Linked DNA regions of Homo sapiens: regions 1, 3 and 4 are each linked to region 2. The links are contacts of gene promoters, found by promoter capture Hi-C in blood cells and fetal thymus (Javierre and others, 2016). All regions are on one chromosome and are shown on one strand. Each heading gives the region's core, a stretch centred on a gene start or on the middle of the fragment in contact. The rest is flanking DNA. Distances are from core to core; before and after follow the strand shown.

Region 1 (3,953 bases), core at 229-2,728, 530 kb before region 2:
AAGGTTATATAAATTTATATTACCCATTTTAAGAAATGTTGGTTGATAATGTTAAGTTTAAGTTGGCGTTATATATTTTCAGAGAAAAAAAAAGCTTCCTTCTTTCTTTAGTCTTAGAGAAATGCTTTATTATAGTCTTTACAGAAAGGCAGGAAGCAAGTCTGTCTGCTCCATAGCAAGTTCTACAGGTCACATAAGGGCTCGTTAGTAGTGTGTGTTAGCGCAGCCATTCCAAGAAAGACATCTAAGCTAAGCATCTAAAAGCAGGTTTGGTGTTTCTAAGTGCCTGGTGTCTGAAATGAACTCTTGTTTAAATCTTAGTATGCCCAGCTACTTCTTGACACAGTAGATAAGTTTCAGGGTGAATTCTGTTCAGAATTCCTGAATATTTGTCTGTTCTCTCCAGCTAACTAAGTGACGCTTGGGGAATAGCCATGCAGATAGATGGAAACCCAGTTAACGGGGGCATGCTCCACTGTACCAAGAGGAATTATAATGCTCGTTTGTACTTCTGGCACTTCATGACTTTTCTTTTACCTACCCCATTCCCCGTGTGCTCTATTCCAAGCGCAAAAATCTTCTAGTAGGCTTTCACTAAGGAAATTCCCCAAAAACATTTTCCCAACCATTGAGAGTTGGTCATTTACTTTTTTTTTTTTTTTTAAGCCCACTGACAAGGAACTGAGAGAGACTATAGCATTGCTGACAGCCCAACAGACTGCTCTGGAAATTATTGTCAACATGTGCTGCAATGAAGGTTTGTTAACATTTACATTTAGACATTTTCCCCCTGAGCCAAGAGGGAAACTCCCGTGGAGATTTTCTTAACTATTCCAGTTCTGCGTGGTTTGCCCGCTTCCCAGATCCCTCTGATGACGAATGGGAAGAGCTTTCTAGCAGTGATGAAAGTGACGCATTTATGGAGAATTCCTTCAGTGAGTGCGGGGGACAGCTGTTTTCTCCCCTCTGCCTCTCCCATGAAGTTCACACGGCTCTCACCAACTACCTCATCCCAAAGAAGGTAATCCATTTTCATTCTAGGCTTACCGTGGAGCATGGGAAAGGCTTAAGCAAGGTATTCATTTTGTGTACAAAAGAAGCAAGCTCACACTTCCAGGTTGTAGATGGTGGTAAGATCTGAGACAAAGCTGAGCCTAACAGTACTGGAAATAGGCGAAAAGGTCATTCTATATGAAGCCTAACCATTTCACTTAGGAGTAATATGTTGGAATTATGTAAGGGAATCGTGTTAAATGACTACTCTTTAACCTTTGCTTTACTGCCTCTTTTAAATCTAGATTTTTGAGAAAACTGCCTTTCCAAACAGCATTGCAGTTGACCTATGTTCTAGGAACCCTACTTGGAAACCTTTGATTAGAAAGTAAGAACTCTTCTGCTTTCAAAAACATTTGTCATTATTTTATTTTATGAAATGATGGGCTATTAAATAGAAGGTGCTGACTCCCCCTAGGACCCAGAAGTTTTGTTCCTGGGTATATATACCAGAAAAATATGTGCCCACATGCCCTAGAATACATGTATATGAGAGTGTTCATAGCAGTGTGTGTCACAGTTGCCCCAACCCATAAACAAACGTGTTGTCCATCAGAGTTAGAATGGTAAATAAATTTTGACAAAATCACGCAGTACAATACATGCAGCAGTAAAAGGGATCTGAATTAGAGCTACTCACAACTCGGATGGAACTTACATTGTTGAACCAAAAAAGCGAGACATAAAAGAATACACACACTGTGATTCAGTTTTTACAAAGTTGAGAAACAGGCAACATTGAACTATTTTGTTCAGGGATGCATACCTTGGTGATAAACCTATTAAAAAAAAAAAGAGGCAAGGAAATGTTTACCATAGAAGTCTGTATGGTGCTTACCTGTAGGTGTCAGGGAGGTGGGATATTATATGGAAGAGATACAGGGGCTTTCAGGGTCCAGCAGTGTTAATTTCTTTCCCAGGTGCATGGGTTTTGGTTTCATAGACTGTTTGTTAAACTCTCTATGTATGTTGTGTACTTAACTGTATATATGTCACATTTCACAATTAAAAATAATTTTAGGCTGGGCATGGTGGCTCACACCTATAATCCCAGGACTCTGGGAGGCCAAGGTAGGAGGATCACTTGAGGCCAGGAGTTTGAAACCAGCCTGGGCAGCATAGCAAGACCCCATCTCTACAAAGGAAAAAAAAATACAAAAATTAGCCTGGCATAGTGGCACTCAGCTGTAGTCCTAGCTACTTAGGAGGCTGAAGTGGGAGGATTGCTTGAGCTCAGCAGTCTAAGGCTGTAGTGAGCTATGATGGTGACACTGTACTCCAGCCTGGGAAACAGAATGAGACCCTGTCTGAAGAAAATTATAATTTTAAGGATGCTACCCTACATAGAAATTTTTCTAAAACATATTCCTCATGACTCATGAATGAGTTGTGTATCAGAGGCCGTGAATATTCAAGCAGTTTGATTTGGCAGATTAACAGTTCACCTTATAATTCTAGCACTTTGGAAGGTACAGGCAGGAGGATTGTTTGAGGCCAAGAGTTCCAGAGCAGCCTGGGCAACATAGCAAGACCCCTATCTACAAAAAATAAAAAACTTAGCCAGGTGTGGTTGCATGCACATGTAATCCTGCTCCTTAGGAGGCTGAGGCAGGAGGATCACTTGTGCTCAGGAGGTTGAGGCTACAGCGAGCTGTGATCACACCACTGCACTCCAGCCTGGGCAACAGAGTAAGACCCTGTCTAAAAAATGATGATAAATTTTAGAAAACACAAAAAACAGTTCACCTTGTGATTCTTTGCTAACTGCCATAGATACCTTGTATTTACAGATATTTCCAGTCAGAACGTGAAGCTTAGGCTAAAAGTTAATACTGAATTCTGATGGGCAACTTCTGGAGAATCAGATGGCATTGTTTCACTTCCTTTCCAGAATGAACACTATTCAGTGCAGAGCCCTCTTCTGTCTCCAGAGTCTTGTGTCCCTCCTGGATGTGGAGCACCTGGGAGGAGCCGCAGCCCTTCAGACGCTTGCACAGCATCTGTCACAGCTGCTTTTTTCTCAACCAGGTATTTAGACTTTATTGCGAAAGACTACGCAGACGGAACAGAATTTTGAAGGGGCAGGAATTTGGATTTTGTAAATGTATATTGTTTGTCATCCAATGTGCAGAAACCTTTCCCAGACACAGGAATCATGTATTTATAGTTGCCATGGGGTACAGAGTCAAAACGAGGTATGCAAGCAGCTCCTGGGCTTATAATTTTCTTTTTTGTTAAAATTGTTTGCATCCAGTTATATCAGGCCAGTCAAGGCTGTATCATAAATATCATAAAGGCCTCATTAAGGTATTTGGATAATTCTCAGCCAAGCACGGTGGCTCATGCCTGTAGTCCCAGCACTTTGGGAGGCCGAGGCGGGAGGATCACCTCAGGTCAGGAGTTGGAGACCAGCCTGGCCAACATGATGAAACCGCTCTACTAAAATACAAAACTTTAACTGGGCGTGGTGGTGGAGATGCCTGTAATCCCAGCTACTCGGGAGGCTGAGGCAGGAGAATCGCTTGAACCCAGGAGGTGGGGATTGCAGTGATCTGAGGTTGTGCCATTGCACTCCAGCCTGGGCAACAAGAGCAAAACTCCATCTCAAAATAATAATAATAATAATTGAGTACTATTCTATTATTTTCTTCCCAGTTACAAGCATTTAAGTTTGATTAATATATGTATGTAGTACAGAATTCAAAAGTTATTAGAGGACAGAAACTGGAAAGCCTCCCTCCTTTCTCCGACACCCAGTTCCTCTCCCAGAGTCAAGTTACTGTTGCACCAGTTACTTGTGTATCCTTCCAGAGAGATTCTCCATGTATAAGAGAGCGTGTGTATGCGGGCATGCGTGCGTGTGTGTAAGGCAAATGGTAGAATACCATCCACACAATTCT
Region 2 (4,313 bases), core at 595-3,094:
TGGGTTCCTTGTAGCACTTCTTTGCCAGGGTTATTGTGAAGACAATGAGGTGATGGATGTAGGTCGCAAGGGTGGCCCTGGTACAGAGTAAGTGCCCAGCACACTTGAGCTGCCATGATTCTTGTTTCCTGGGTTCAGTTTTCTTGAAGAGGTGTCAGCCCGTGTTTATAATCATTTACCTAGCCCAGATCAAAGAGGACCTCTTTGCAAAGCTTCTTTAATCCTGTTAGAATCTCCAAAGGCCTCCCCGTACTCCTGGTGCCTGGAGTAGGGTCTGGCATGCTGTATGTGCTCAATAAATAAACACTCACTGAAGAAGGAAAGTCAATACCCTGTAGTCACTGAAAGCAGGTGACCTCTCCCTCTGCCTCACTGAAAGCAGGTGACCCCTCCCTCCGGCCTCTCAGGCAGGACCTGTGTACCTGTGTTGGGGCCTGGGCCAGTCTGTCCAGGCTCCCAGGGGTCAGATGTTGGGCAAAGGAACTTGGGAGGCCTGTACTTCCTTTCATCTGTAGTTGGAAAACTGAAGCCCAGAGAGGGAAGTGACCTGTCCAGGGTCACACAGCAGACTGAGAACAGAATCTGGCCCCTCACTCCTCACCATTCAGTATGTGCTGGGCATTTGCTGCAGCTAGGGGCTCTGCTGGGCCCTGGGTTCACAGGCACGAGCAAGGTAGGCAGGCCCAGCAGTCACGACATTCACAGGAGGGAGGCAGGGATGAATACATAAATCTGCGAAGGAGCATGGAAGTTTCTAGTAGTGGTTCTCTGCTAAGACGTAAAACCCAGGGAGAGGTAGAGTGAGGAGGCTTTTCTGAGAAGGTGATGTTTCAGCTGAGATGCAGATGCCAGGAAGGAGCCAGCCATGGAAGAATGTAGGGGGAGAGCAGCTATGAGTGAGCAGAACCCCAGAGTGGAGGGAACTTGGTGTTTGGGGAAGAACAAAAAGGAGGCCGATGTGGCATCAGGAATGAGAGTGGGGTGGTCGGCAAGTGTGGGACCACGCCCTTAGGTTGCGTGGTTCTGCCCAGATGGTTGGGTGGGTGACTGCTGGATTCTGACCTCTGTTTTAAGAAGTTAATTCTGGCTTCTGGGAGGGACTGCCCATGGGCAGGGAGGAAGAGGGCAATGAAACCAGGAGGTGACTGCAGGGTCGCAGGCGAGAGGAGATGGTGCTGGCCTAGCCTGGGAGCTTGGGGCTGGGGAGAGGTCCATGGGGCTGGAGGTTGGAGCTGGTGAGAAGGGGGTTGAGGGAACGAGAGAGATCAGGGATGCATCTTAGACTTTTGGTTTCAGGAACTAAGGATTTGGCGGTGTCACTTCTGAGGTGGAGGTTTTGGCGGGTGACCATCAAGCCTCCCGTTTTTGGACCAGTTGGGTTCAAGATGCCCATTTAACATCCAAGGAGAGGTACCGAGGAGGCCGTGGGATACCTGGTGATTGGAGCTTGGGGTTCAAGGAGCAGTTGGGCAAGAAACAGAGAGAGAGAGCGAGTCAAGACTTCTCAGGAAGTAGCCACGGACATTGCCCGGGACTCTCGGGCAAGGCTCCTCAATACACAGGGCTGGCGGTGGCTTCCCAGGAAGGCTGGGAGGAAGAGGAGTTCATGGGAAGGCAGCAGGGACCCCCAGATGGAGGGGCAGGTGCCCATGCCCCGCCGGCTCCTCTCCCTCAGTTCAGAGCCTGTCCTGTCGGGGGGTGTCAGCGGCCCTGACTCTCCACTCCCCTACAGTCCCCCCAGAAGCTGAGTTGCAGCGGTGACAGAGAACAAGCGGACTTTGTTACCTTGGCAGTTTCTCTCAAGTCTGCTCCTCATAAAAGCTCAGCTGGAACAGTGGAAATTCTGACTTGTGTCAGATACCGGAGAGGCTTTAATAGTTTCAAGTAGCTCGGGGTTAGATTGTAAAAGCCGAATTTCATCACATGTTTTAACTTGGGTGGGGGCGGGCGGGGGAGAGTGGAAGGGACGTGATATTTTTAGCCCACAGAAGGCTTTTTCTCCCCTTTCCCCTTCTCTCCCGGGGCTTCCCCCTCCCTCCCTGAACAGATGTTTCGTCTCAATCCTGTTCAGATGTCAAAGCCGAGTGGCCACCAGCCTTATGCTCTGATGAGGAAAAAAAGGCCAGAATGTTATTTGTTGAGAAGGATTTCCTCCCCTACCCGCTTTTCCCCCTTTTTTGTTTCCCCTCAGTTACAATTGGTCCATAAGCAAAATCTAGTGGCAGTAAAATGCAGCTGGGAGGCAGGATGGTGGAGAAGAAGTCCCTGGTGGCATTTCTGGTCTCAGGAAGGGGCAGACACCCACAGGTGAAAAAGCTGGAAATCACCCTAGAGGGACTGCCCTGGGTGAGTGAATTACTGCTGTGGTGCTGGTGCTGGTGGTTTTTCCTAAAAAGCAGGATCTCAGAGAGACGGATTTGTTAAGTCAGGATTCTTTCGGTTCTTTTGGAAACTCACTTAAACTTTTGGCTCATGAAATTGAAAAATCCTAGGGTAGATCTTGCCTAAAAAGGCCTGTTTGGATTCTGGAGCTAAAACCATGTCATGGACACATGCACGCACACACACACACTCACACACACACGTATACTCACACATTCACACACATGTCTCGCTCGCTGCCCCTCTCTCTCCCTCTCCATCATCTCTCCCTCTGTCCCCTGGTGGCTTCTCCCCCACAGGGGGCAAGGGTGGCAGTTCCCAGCTCTGGGCACTCCCATCCTATGAGCACAGCCCTGTCAGGTGGAAGAAAGTTCCCAGGTCACAGGGGTTCTTGCACATGTTGGACTCACTTTATTGACCACTTTACTGGTCACTTGACCAGGGTAGATCTAGGTTTTATGGGACCTGAAGCTTTCTGGGGCCAAACCAAAATAAATATCTCACCAACTCAGTCTCTCCTTAGCTCATGTCCAGAAATGCCTGTATTTCCCCTAGTATCACCTCACACAGGCAAAGGATGTCAGAATGGTTAGATGACAATCTTAATAGATTGAGGATAAAATGCCTAATTTGGAAAATGTTACAAATACAAACACATATGACCACATAAACACCTTGCAAAGACCCATCCTGACTTGGAAAGGGCCCGTGTAGGTGAGAGGGCCCAGAAGCCTAGCTTCATTAGCTTCTTCATAAACTCTTCTTTCATACTGACCTAGGACCAGCCACGTGGCCTTCAGGATGAAACAAGCTGGGTCAGGTAGGGGTACTGAGTGCAGTGTGACCCTGGAGTGGGATCAGTCTCCATAAACTAGATAGACTGAGAGTGGGGGATGAGTAGCTCTGGGGAGGAAAGCCAGATGCTATCATCAGAAGGAGGAGAAGGATTGCTGGACAGGCAGGAACAGGTGTCAGCTATTGTGGTCTGAGAGAGTGGACAGGCCAGTGGTTGAGGAGTTGGGAAACTGGGATTTAGTTCTCTTTGTTCCACAACTTCTGGGTTCAAATCCTGGTTCTGCTACTTACCGTTGTTTCATTTTGATGATGCTGCTGATGATGCAGCACCTATAGTGTGATAGACACTGCACTATAGACATATATATCTCAGGGTATAGATATTGGGCTGATGGAAGATTCTGATGATTAAATGAGTGATATAATGATGGTGTAATAAGGCTCACTGAGCAGGGAAGCCTAACCTAGCCCTGAGGGTGTGACAGCATGCTGCTCAGAGGAAGGGAGGCTTAAACTGAAGACCTGAAGGATGAGTGGGAATTGCAGAGCTGGAAAGAGTGTTCTTGGCAGGGATAACAGCGTGAGAGCATGGCAGGCTCAGAAAAGGGAAAGCAGTTCCACAGAGAGACGGGACTGAGAGGTGGCAGCAGCCGGGTCGTGGAAGCCTTTGGACCCCTCCTTAGGGGAAAGGGGGCCACTGGAGGGGTTTAAGCAGGGAAACGGCATAATCAGTTTTGGTTTTTAAGCTCAGTTTCCTCTTTTGTACGATGCCAACAGTAGCACACCCTGCACAGTGTTAAGAGGACTTAATGGAATAATGTGTGGTACTACTAACTTCACCAGCCTCTCCATGCAGCCCACCACAGTATGTGGCTGTGTTTACAAACAGAGGTGGGATCGCTAGGACCCTCATTCCCTAAGGAGAGCCTGATACAGATACTGCAAGAAACCATTTGGCCTGGAATGCACATATGATATCTTTCTCTTTTTACTGGCAGCAGATTTACCCGCCTAATTATATTTGGCAGAGGCTAATATTAAAATTCATCTGCATTCCCTCGAACAGCTGCTGTCAGAAGGTTGTGGACTCAAACATCTTGGCAAGCAACCCTGAGACTAAAATATTTGCAGCAGAT
Region 3 (3,892 bases), core at 694-3,193, 560 kb before region 2:
TCTTCTGAGAGCCAAAGGCAGCCACTGGGGGGTCACAGGTGGGCATGTGGGAAATAGAAAAGGATGGGGACTGTGTGGAGGAGGCCAGAATTGCATCGTATTTCTTCTAAAAAAATTTCATAATTTAAAAAATTATGTAAGTACTACCCAATCATTTTGGAAAACCCAGAAAATACAAACAGGGCAATAATCAGACTTTTTAAAAAGTATCTGGCCCAGCGTGGTGGCTCACGCCTGTAATCCCAACACTTTGGGAGGCCAAGGTGGGTGGATCACCTGCGGTCAGGAGTTGGAGACCAGCCTGGCCAACACGGTGAAACCCTGTCTCTAAAAATACAAAATGTAGCTGGCCGTGGTGGCACGTGCCTGCAGTCCCAGCTACTCGGGGGGCTGAGGCAGGACAATCACTTGAACCTGGGAGGCGGAGGTTGCAGTGAGCTGAGATCACACTGCTGCGCTCCAGCACTCCAGTCTGGGAAACAAGAGCGAAACTCCATCTGAAAAAAAATATATATAGATATAGATATAGATATAGATATAGATATATGGATATATATAGATAGATATAGAGATATCTATATAGATATATCTATCTATATATCTCTATATCTATCTATATATATCTATATCTATCTATATCTATATCTATATCTATATATATCTATATCTATATCTATATATATATCTATATATATCTATATATATATATCTCCTTTAATTCTGCCCAGAGGCAAACACAGGAAACATTTTGGTACATACGCTTTGTTTCGGTTTTTTTTTTTTTCCATTTTTACAAATGTGAAAGGTCCAGGTATATATACTTCCATGAGTTTTTCTCTGTTTTGTGTGTTTCCAAAAGTGTGATTATGCTATTTATGCTGCTTTGTAACCTGCCTTTTTACTTCATAGTGCCTGGTGAACACCTTTCTTTCCTTATGGATAAACAGTATCAAAGGATGGTTTTCAAGTTAAAATTTTGACCTTCGTATACACATAGGGTGAGCATGTACATGTTCTTTAATGAAGGAACTGGGAGGATGGTAAAACTGGTTCAACAGAGAAACAGAAATTTATATAGTCAGTGTGGAAAAATGTATTTAAATGGGATTTCTAGGTTAGATATGAAACTGGTTAATATTCTACAGGGCAACGAAATTCTATCCTTTGGGGTTATCTTTTCTGCTGGACAGAAATAATTTGCATCTCAACTGGACAAAATCAAAATCATTTGCAATTTATTCATATATAAATTCACATCTAATTTCATAGAGTCTAGGCCCCTAAGTAAATGGTCAGTCAAACAAAAACATATATTTCTCTAGAGCAATGATTCTCAACTAAAGGTGATTTTGCCTCCCAGAGGACATTTGGCAATGGCCAAAGACATGTTTGGTTGTCACCACTGGGGAGTGTTAGTGGCATCTGGTGGGTAGAGGCCAGGGGTGCTGTTAAAACATTGTACAATGCACAGGACAGCCTCCACAACAAAGAATTATCCAGCCCAGACTGGCAACCTCCACAACAGAGAATTATCCAGCCCACACTGTCAGTGGTACCCACCTCTACCTATTAGATGCTAGTAGCACCCCCACAGTTGTGACAACCAAAATGTCTCCAGACATTGCCAAATGTCCCACAGGGAGGCAAAATTGCCCCCAGGTCAGACGCACTGCTTTAGAGTTGCACTTTACAAATGCATCGCATCTAGTCACGTGTAGCTATTTATTTTTATTTTTATTTTATTTTTATTTACTTTTTAATGTCATAATGTTAATGAACACCAGGGGTTCAGTCTAGGTCCTAGGCTTGATATACAGAAAGCCAATCACTGAGACAACAAGTATTGCAGGGAAGAAAGCTTTCTTCAGGTGACATCACTGGGAGAGACCGGAAATAAACCTCAAATCCATTCCTCCTCCCTGACTAAAGGTAGGTGTTTACACATCATGGGAGGATAACAGGAGCAGCAAGGAAGAGGAGTTGGTCAACAGGCAGCAGGGGCATCCCACAGAAGAAACGTACGTTTCTCAAGCTTCAGTTCTATGGACATCTGGCTTGTTGGAAAATTGGGCAGGCATCAACAACAAAAAATGTTTTTAATTAACCAAAATTGAAAATTTAGTTCCTAGCAGTAGCCTTACTTCAAGTGTTCAGTAGCCAATTGTGGGCCAAGTGCAGTGGCTCACTCCTGTAATCTCAGCACTTTGGTAGGTCAAGTCAGGAGGATTGCATGAGGGCAAAAGTTTAAGACCAGCTTGGGCAACAGGGTGAGAGACCTCATCTCTACAAAAAAAAAGAAAATAAAAAAATAAAACAACAACAACAAAATAGCCATGTTTGGCTAGTAGCTACTCTACTGGGCAGGGCAGGCAGAGAACATTTTCCTCTTTGTGGAAAACTCTGCTTGATGGTACTGCCTTAGAGAAATAATCATTTCATGGGTCTGTTAGACATTGGGACAATGTAATATTGAAAAAAATATGCAGGTCAGGTGCAGTGGCTCATGCCTTTAATCCCAGGACTTTGGGAGGCTGAGGCATGCAGATCAGTTGAACTCAGGAGTTCGAGACCAGTCTAGGCAACATGGTGAAACCCCATCTCTACAAAAAAAAAAAAAAATCAGCTGGGCATGGTGGTGGGCACCTGTAGTCCTAGCTACTCGGAAGGCTGAGGTGGGAGGATGGCTAGAGCCCAGGAGGTGAAAGTTGCAGTGAGCCAAGACCACACCACTGCATTCCAGCCTGGGCAAGAGAGCAAGACCCTGTCTCAAAAAAAGATTTAAAAAACATATATAAAGAAAAGAAACAGAAAAAATGTGCAGCTATCCTTTTTGCTTATTTCCAAGTTTTGGATAATTTTTCTTTTTTTCTTTTTCATCAGCACTTTTATTTTTCCTTACGCACTCGTGTTGTTGGGGCCTAATGTTCTCACATAACTGTAAGAAACCAAAATTTGTTGTCATCTCTTAAAGAATTGAGAATTGCATACACACACACACACACACACACACACACACACACAAACCTTACGTAAATTAAAGGGATGAATACATTTACAGGTGTAAATGCAAACCACTTCCAACTCAAGGCAAGTAACAGCCATGGTATTCCGGCAGGAAAACATCAGCTAAGAAAGGAAACTGGGTCCTATGGCTTGGACTTTCCAACCCTGACAGACCAGCAGAACAGAAACAACTGGTTCAGGAGCCCTTGCCAGCCTCTAGAGAAATCCCAGAACACTCAGCCCTAACACATTAACACCCTGCACTCGTGGGAGACTGCTGGCCACGCAGACCCACCAAGCCATGGACTTGTCTTCCACAAGCACGTTCTTACCTCAGCCACAAAGTGACCAAGCCACATGTACTAAGGGTTGAGATCCAAGATATGTACAGAATACTTAACAAATACCAAGGGAACAGTTAACTTGCATATGAGGTCAAAATCAGCAACAAGTTCTACAATCCAGTGCTGATATCAGATACAAGCTTCAAGGACGAATTTCTTTTTGAAGGCTTATTCCAGTTTCATGAGGCTAGCATGGGGTGTATGCATTTGCCAGGGGCAAATTTATTCTTCTGAATTAATCCACGCCACAAATGCTAGGCATCTGCTCGCAGTCCATTTAGAAGCATTTGCGGTGGATGATGGAGGGGGCTGACTCCTCGTACTCCTGCTTGCTAATCCACATCTGCTGGAAGGTAGACAGGGAGGCCAGGATGGAGCCGCCAATCCACACCATGTACTTGTGCTCAGGGGACTCGATGATTGTGATCTTCATGGTGCTGGGCGCCAGAGTGGTGATCTCCTGCATCCTGCCCGTGATGTCCAGGTACACGGTGGTGCCGCAGGACAGCATCATCTTGGCCTACAGGTATTTGTGGATGTCCACG
Region 4 (4,133 bases), core at 1,630-4,129, 620 kb before region 2:
GCCTCCAGAACCATGAGCCAAATAAATCTCTTTTCTTTATGTGAATAAATTACCGGTCTCGGGTATTCCTTTATAGCAACTCAAACAGACTAATACAACCTGTATAGGGCACTTACCAAGACTGGAGCTTGCCATAACTGAAAGTTGTTCTGGATGAGTCAGTGAGTCAGTGGTGAGAGAATGCGAAGGCCTCCTGGGCTATCCGAGAGAGAGAACACAGTCATGGCTTCTTAGTTTCTGTTTCTGGCTGGGCCAGTAAAGCCCCTCGTCTCTACTAAAAATATAAAAATTAGCCAGATGTGGTGACACAAGCCTGTAGTCCCAGCTACTCGGGAGGCTGAGGCAGGAGAATCACTTGAACCCAGGAGGCGGAGGTTGCAGTGAGCCGAGATCATGTCACTGCACTCTAGCCTGGGCAACAGAGAGAGATGCCATCTCAAAAAAAAAAAAATTCACTGTAGCTACTGAAGGTTGCCATATTGTTCTCTGTGAAGCCTGACCAATGAAGACATCTTAAGTCCTAAAGAAACAAATTGGTTATTGTTTAGGATTAAATTAGAAGACCATTTTCACAATATTAATAACACAGAAAGCTTTACAAGTCACAATGCTTGCTTCCAACCCCCCCACACCCCATTTTAGCCAATTTTCAAACAACCATAACAATGAAGACCAGCTAATGACAACCCAAAAACACCACCCCAACTCTATTTCTCTGCAAAAAAAAACAAAAACAAAAAACAAGTTTAAGTCAATAAAATCATCTACAGAAGATCAAGAGAGTATTGGCAGAATATTCCCTTAGACTGGAGAGAAGGAAAATAAGCAACTAGGAACTAAAAATCCACTATATGAGATATCTAGAGTAGACAAAATCACAGAAACAGAAAGTAGAATGGTGGCTGCCAGTGACCAAAGGGAAAGAAGGTAGGGAGTTGTTTAACGAATGACAAGCCTCAGTTTTGCAAGATGAAAAAGTTCTGGTGATCGCTCACAACAATGTGAATATACTTAGCACTACTGAGCTGTACACTTAAAAATGGTTAAGATTGCCGGGCACAGTGGCTCACACCTGTAATCCCAGCATTTTGGATTGCCGGGCACGGTGGATTACACGCCTGTAATCCGAAGTGGGTGGATCACTTGAGGTCAGGAGTTCAAGATCAGCCTGGCCAAAATGGTGAAACCCCATCTTTACTAAAAATACAAAAAAAAAAAATTAGCCTGGTATGATCTCAGCTGCCCAGGAGGCTGAGGCAGGAGGATCACTTGAACCCGGGAGGCAGAGGTTACAGTAAGCCAAGATTGCACCACTGTACTCCAGCCTGAGCAACAGAGTGAGATTCCATCTAAAAAAAAAAGAAAAAAGAAAAAAAAAACAGTTAAGATGGCAAATTTTATGTTCTGTGCATTTCATCAAAATAAAAAAGAGACAAAAAAAAAACCTACGATAAGATAGCTCTTCACACCTACTAAAATGGCTACAATAAAAACAAGTGTTGGTGAGATGTGGAGAAACTGGAACTCATGCATTGCCGGTGGGAATGTCAAATGCCATAGCCATTTTGAAAAGCAGTTTGGCAGATTCTTAAAATGTTAAACATAGCCAGGCATGGTGGCTCACACCTATAGTCCCAGCTACTCAGGAGGCTGAGTTGGGAGGATTGCTTGAGGCCAGGAATTCAAGACCAGCCTGGGCAATATAATGAGACCCCATCTCTATGAAAAATTAAAAAATTAGCCAGGCATGGTGGCATGCACCTTAGCCCCAGCTACTCAAGAGGCCAAGAGAAAAGAAAAAAGAAAAGAAAAAAAATGTAGTATATCCATACAATGAAATATTATACTATTCACCAATAAAAAGGAATTAAGTATTGATACATGCTACCAGGTGGCTGAACTTCAAAACGTGCTGAAATGAAAGCCAGTCATAAAACGCTACGTATTATATGTTTATGATTCCATTTATATGAAATAGCCAGAAAAGGTGAATTCATAGAAAAAGAAAGTAGATCATTGGTTGCCTGGGGTGAAATGGGGAGTGACTGACTGAAAATAGGCTCAGGGCATCTTTTTGGTTTGATGAAAATGTTATTTCAATAGCAAACTGGTGCTTAAAAAATTGATAATAATAAAAGAAATAATCTAAAATTGATTGTGGCAGTGATTAATATAAGTTTACTAAAAATTGTTAAATTTAAAATGAGTGAATTTTGTGATATGTAAATTATACCTCACTAAAACATAAAGCTTTTTTAATAAAATGAAGTCAGACTTCTGGATTACACATTGAGGCCCATGTTGGCCAGTGAGGTGCTTTGCCAGACAATTTCCACACACTAAATGAACAATCTATAACTCCTAGATTTTGCTTAAAATATAGTTAAAACATACATACAATACATACAGGATAGGATGGTAATGATATCCTTTATAACTCTTTAGGAGTATAATGAAAAATACTTTACTGTCAACTTACAAAGGTACAAGAGGGAAATTCATTTTTTTTCCACCAAGAGCTTGGGAATAGGGCCCCCACCCCATGTCAGCTCACTGCCATGGCAACTGGGAGGATGAGACCTCACTCTAGAAGCTAGAAGTCACCTGCCCCAGAGCAAGTGCTGGGGATTTCAGTGCATTCTCAATATTAACTGAGAGAACCATTAGAAGGCCAACACTAGGCTGGGCACAGTGGTTCATGCCTGTAATCCCAGTACTTTGGGAAGCTAAGGAGGGAGAGTCACTTGAAGCTGGGAGTTCCAGACCAGCCTGGGCAACATAGGGAAACCCTAGCTACACACACACACACACAAAACCCCAGCTACACACACACACACACACACACATATAAATTAGCTGGGCATGGTGGCTCATGCCTGTGGTCCTAGCTACCTAAGAGTCTGAGGTGGGAGGCTCGCTTGAGCCCAGGAGGTAGAGGCTACAGTGAGCTATGATCGTGCCACTGCATTGCAGCCTGGGTAGCAGAGCAAGATTGTGTCTTGCTCTGATTTAGCTCATTTAGTTTATAGGAAGAGAAGGAGAAAGAGAAAGAGAGAAGACAAGAAAGCAAGCCAGCCAGCCAACACCAAATGTCAGGTTGCATCTTTTCTCTCTCATCCTTTCATTATGGGAAAGCCCCACAGGAGGCATTTACCTTGCAAAACAACTCTTGACCTCCACTGCCCCTGGGACTGGGACAAAGCTGAAATACAAAGATAACCAAAAATAAATACATATATAAAAATTAAAATTTAAAAAAGGTGTGGGGCTTTCAAGAACCCATGTCCTTCAATGGTAATACTGACCTTAACTGATTTTCCCTGGAGACTGAGCTTCCGTATCAGACCCAACCCTCCTATACAACAGTCCCCCAAAGTGATATGTTCCAAGACCCCCAGTGGATACTTCAAACCATGGATAGTACTGAAGCCTATGATTCTGTAAAAAAATAAAATAAAATAAAAAATAAAAATACTATTATTTTTCCTATACCCACATTAACTATGATAAAGCTTAATTTATAAATTAGGCACAGTAAGAGATTAACAACAACAATAATAAAAGAGAACAATTATAACAATATACTATAATAAAAGTTATGTGAATGTGTTCTCTCTCCCAAATTATCTATCTATATCTATTTTTGAGATGGAGTTTTGCTATTGTTGCCCGGGCTGGAGTGCAATGGTGCAATCTCGGCTCACTGAAACCTCTGCCTCCCAGGTTCAAGTGATTCTCCTGCCTCAGCCTCCCAAGTAGCTGGGATTACAGGAATGCGCTGCCACACCCTGCTAATTTTTTGTATTTAGTAGAGAGGGGGTTTCACCATGTTGGCCGGGCTGGTCTCAAACTCCTGACCTCAGGTGGTCCACCCGCCTCGGCCTCCCAAAGTGCTGGTATTACAGGCTTGCGCCACTGCACCCAGCCAAATTATCTTAATATTTTCAGACCGAGGTTGACTGACTTAAATGGAGGAAAACAAAACCATGGATAGGAGGGACTACAGTACTTGTTGAAATTCTTCTTTCAGACTGATGTAGAACCGTCAAACTCACTTCTTACCACCTAGCCTGGCCAAACTTGCCTCAGACTCCTCCACTCAGACACCTGCTAGGTGCTGGGATACAGGGTGA

What was found. The method cuts DNA at HindIII sites, captures the fragments that hold promoters and counts their contacts. A CHiCAGO score of 5 or more calls a contact.
Region 1: a contact is called between a fragment that was not itself captured here and the fragment with the promoter of NKD1-AS1 in region 2, in 5 of 17 cell types (total CD8 T cells, naive CD4 T cells, naive CD8 T cells and 2 more). The highest score is 8.5, in total CD8 T cells.
Region 3: a contact is called between a fragment that was not itself captured here and the fragment with the promoter of NKD1-AS1 in region 2, in 6 of 17 cell types (naive CD4 T cells, total CD8 T cells, non-activated CD4 T cells and 3 more). The highest score is 8.1, in naive CD4 T cells.
Region 4: a fragment that was not itself captured here is called in contact with the fragment with the promoter of NKD1-AS1 in region 2 in 5 of 17 cell types (total CD8 T cells, total B cells, erythroblasts and 2 more); the score reaches 10.5 in total CD8 T cells.

What each region holds. Positions count from the first base shown.
Region 1 is chr16:50,083,271-50,087,223 of GRCh38, forward strand. HEATR3 (HEAT repeat containing 3) reads left to right here. Exons shown (of 15, transcript NM_182922.4): 8 at 667-757; 9 at 864-1,021; 10 at 1,299-1,381; 11 at 2,945-3,081. Among named protein-coding and RNA genes, the nearest start is that of HEATR3-AS1, 19 kb to the left of the region's middle. The HindIII fragment of the contact is 2,772 bases long and covers 93-2,864 here.
Region 2 is chr16:50,611,806-50,616,118 of GRCh38, forward strand. NKD1-AS1 (NKD1 antisense RNA 1) reads right to left here and starts at 1,845. Exons shown (of 3, transcript XR_007065197.1): 1 at 1,786-1,845. The region is part of intron 4 of NKD1 (NKD inhibitor of Wnt signaling pathway 1); the gene reads left to right. The HindIII fragment of the contact is 2,641 bases long and covers 211-2,851 here.
Region 3 is chr16:50,054,526-50,058,417 of GRCh38, forward strand. The region is part of intron 2 of HEATR3-AS1 (HEATR3 antisense RNA 1); the gene reads right to left. It also overlaps the pseudogene ACTG1P16. Among named protein-coding and RNA genes, the nearest start is that of HEATR3, 9.5 kb to the right of the region's middle. The HindIII fragment of the contact is 174 bases long and covers 1,857-2,030 here.
Region 4 is chr16:49,988,418-49,992,550 of GRCh38, forward strand. No RefSeq gene overlaps it. Among named protein-coding and RNA genes, the nearest start is that of CNEP1R1, 35 kb to the right of the region's middle. The HindIII fragment of the contact is 1,262 bases long and covers 2,249-3,510 here.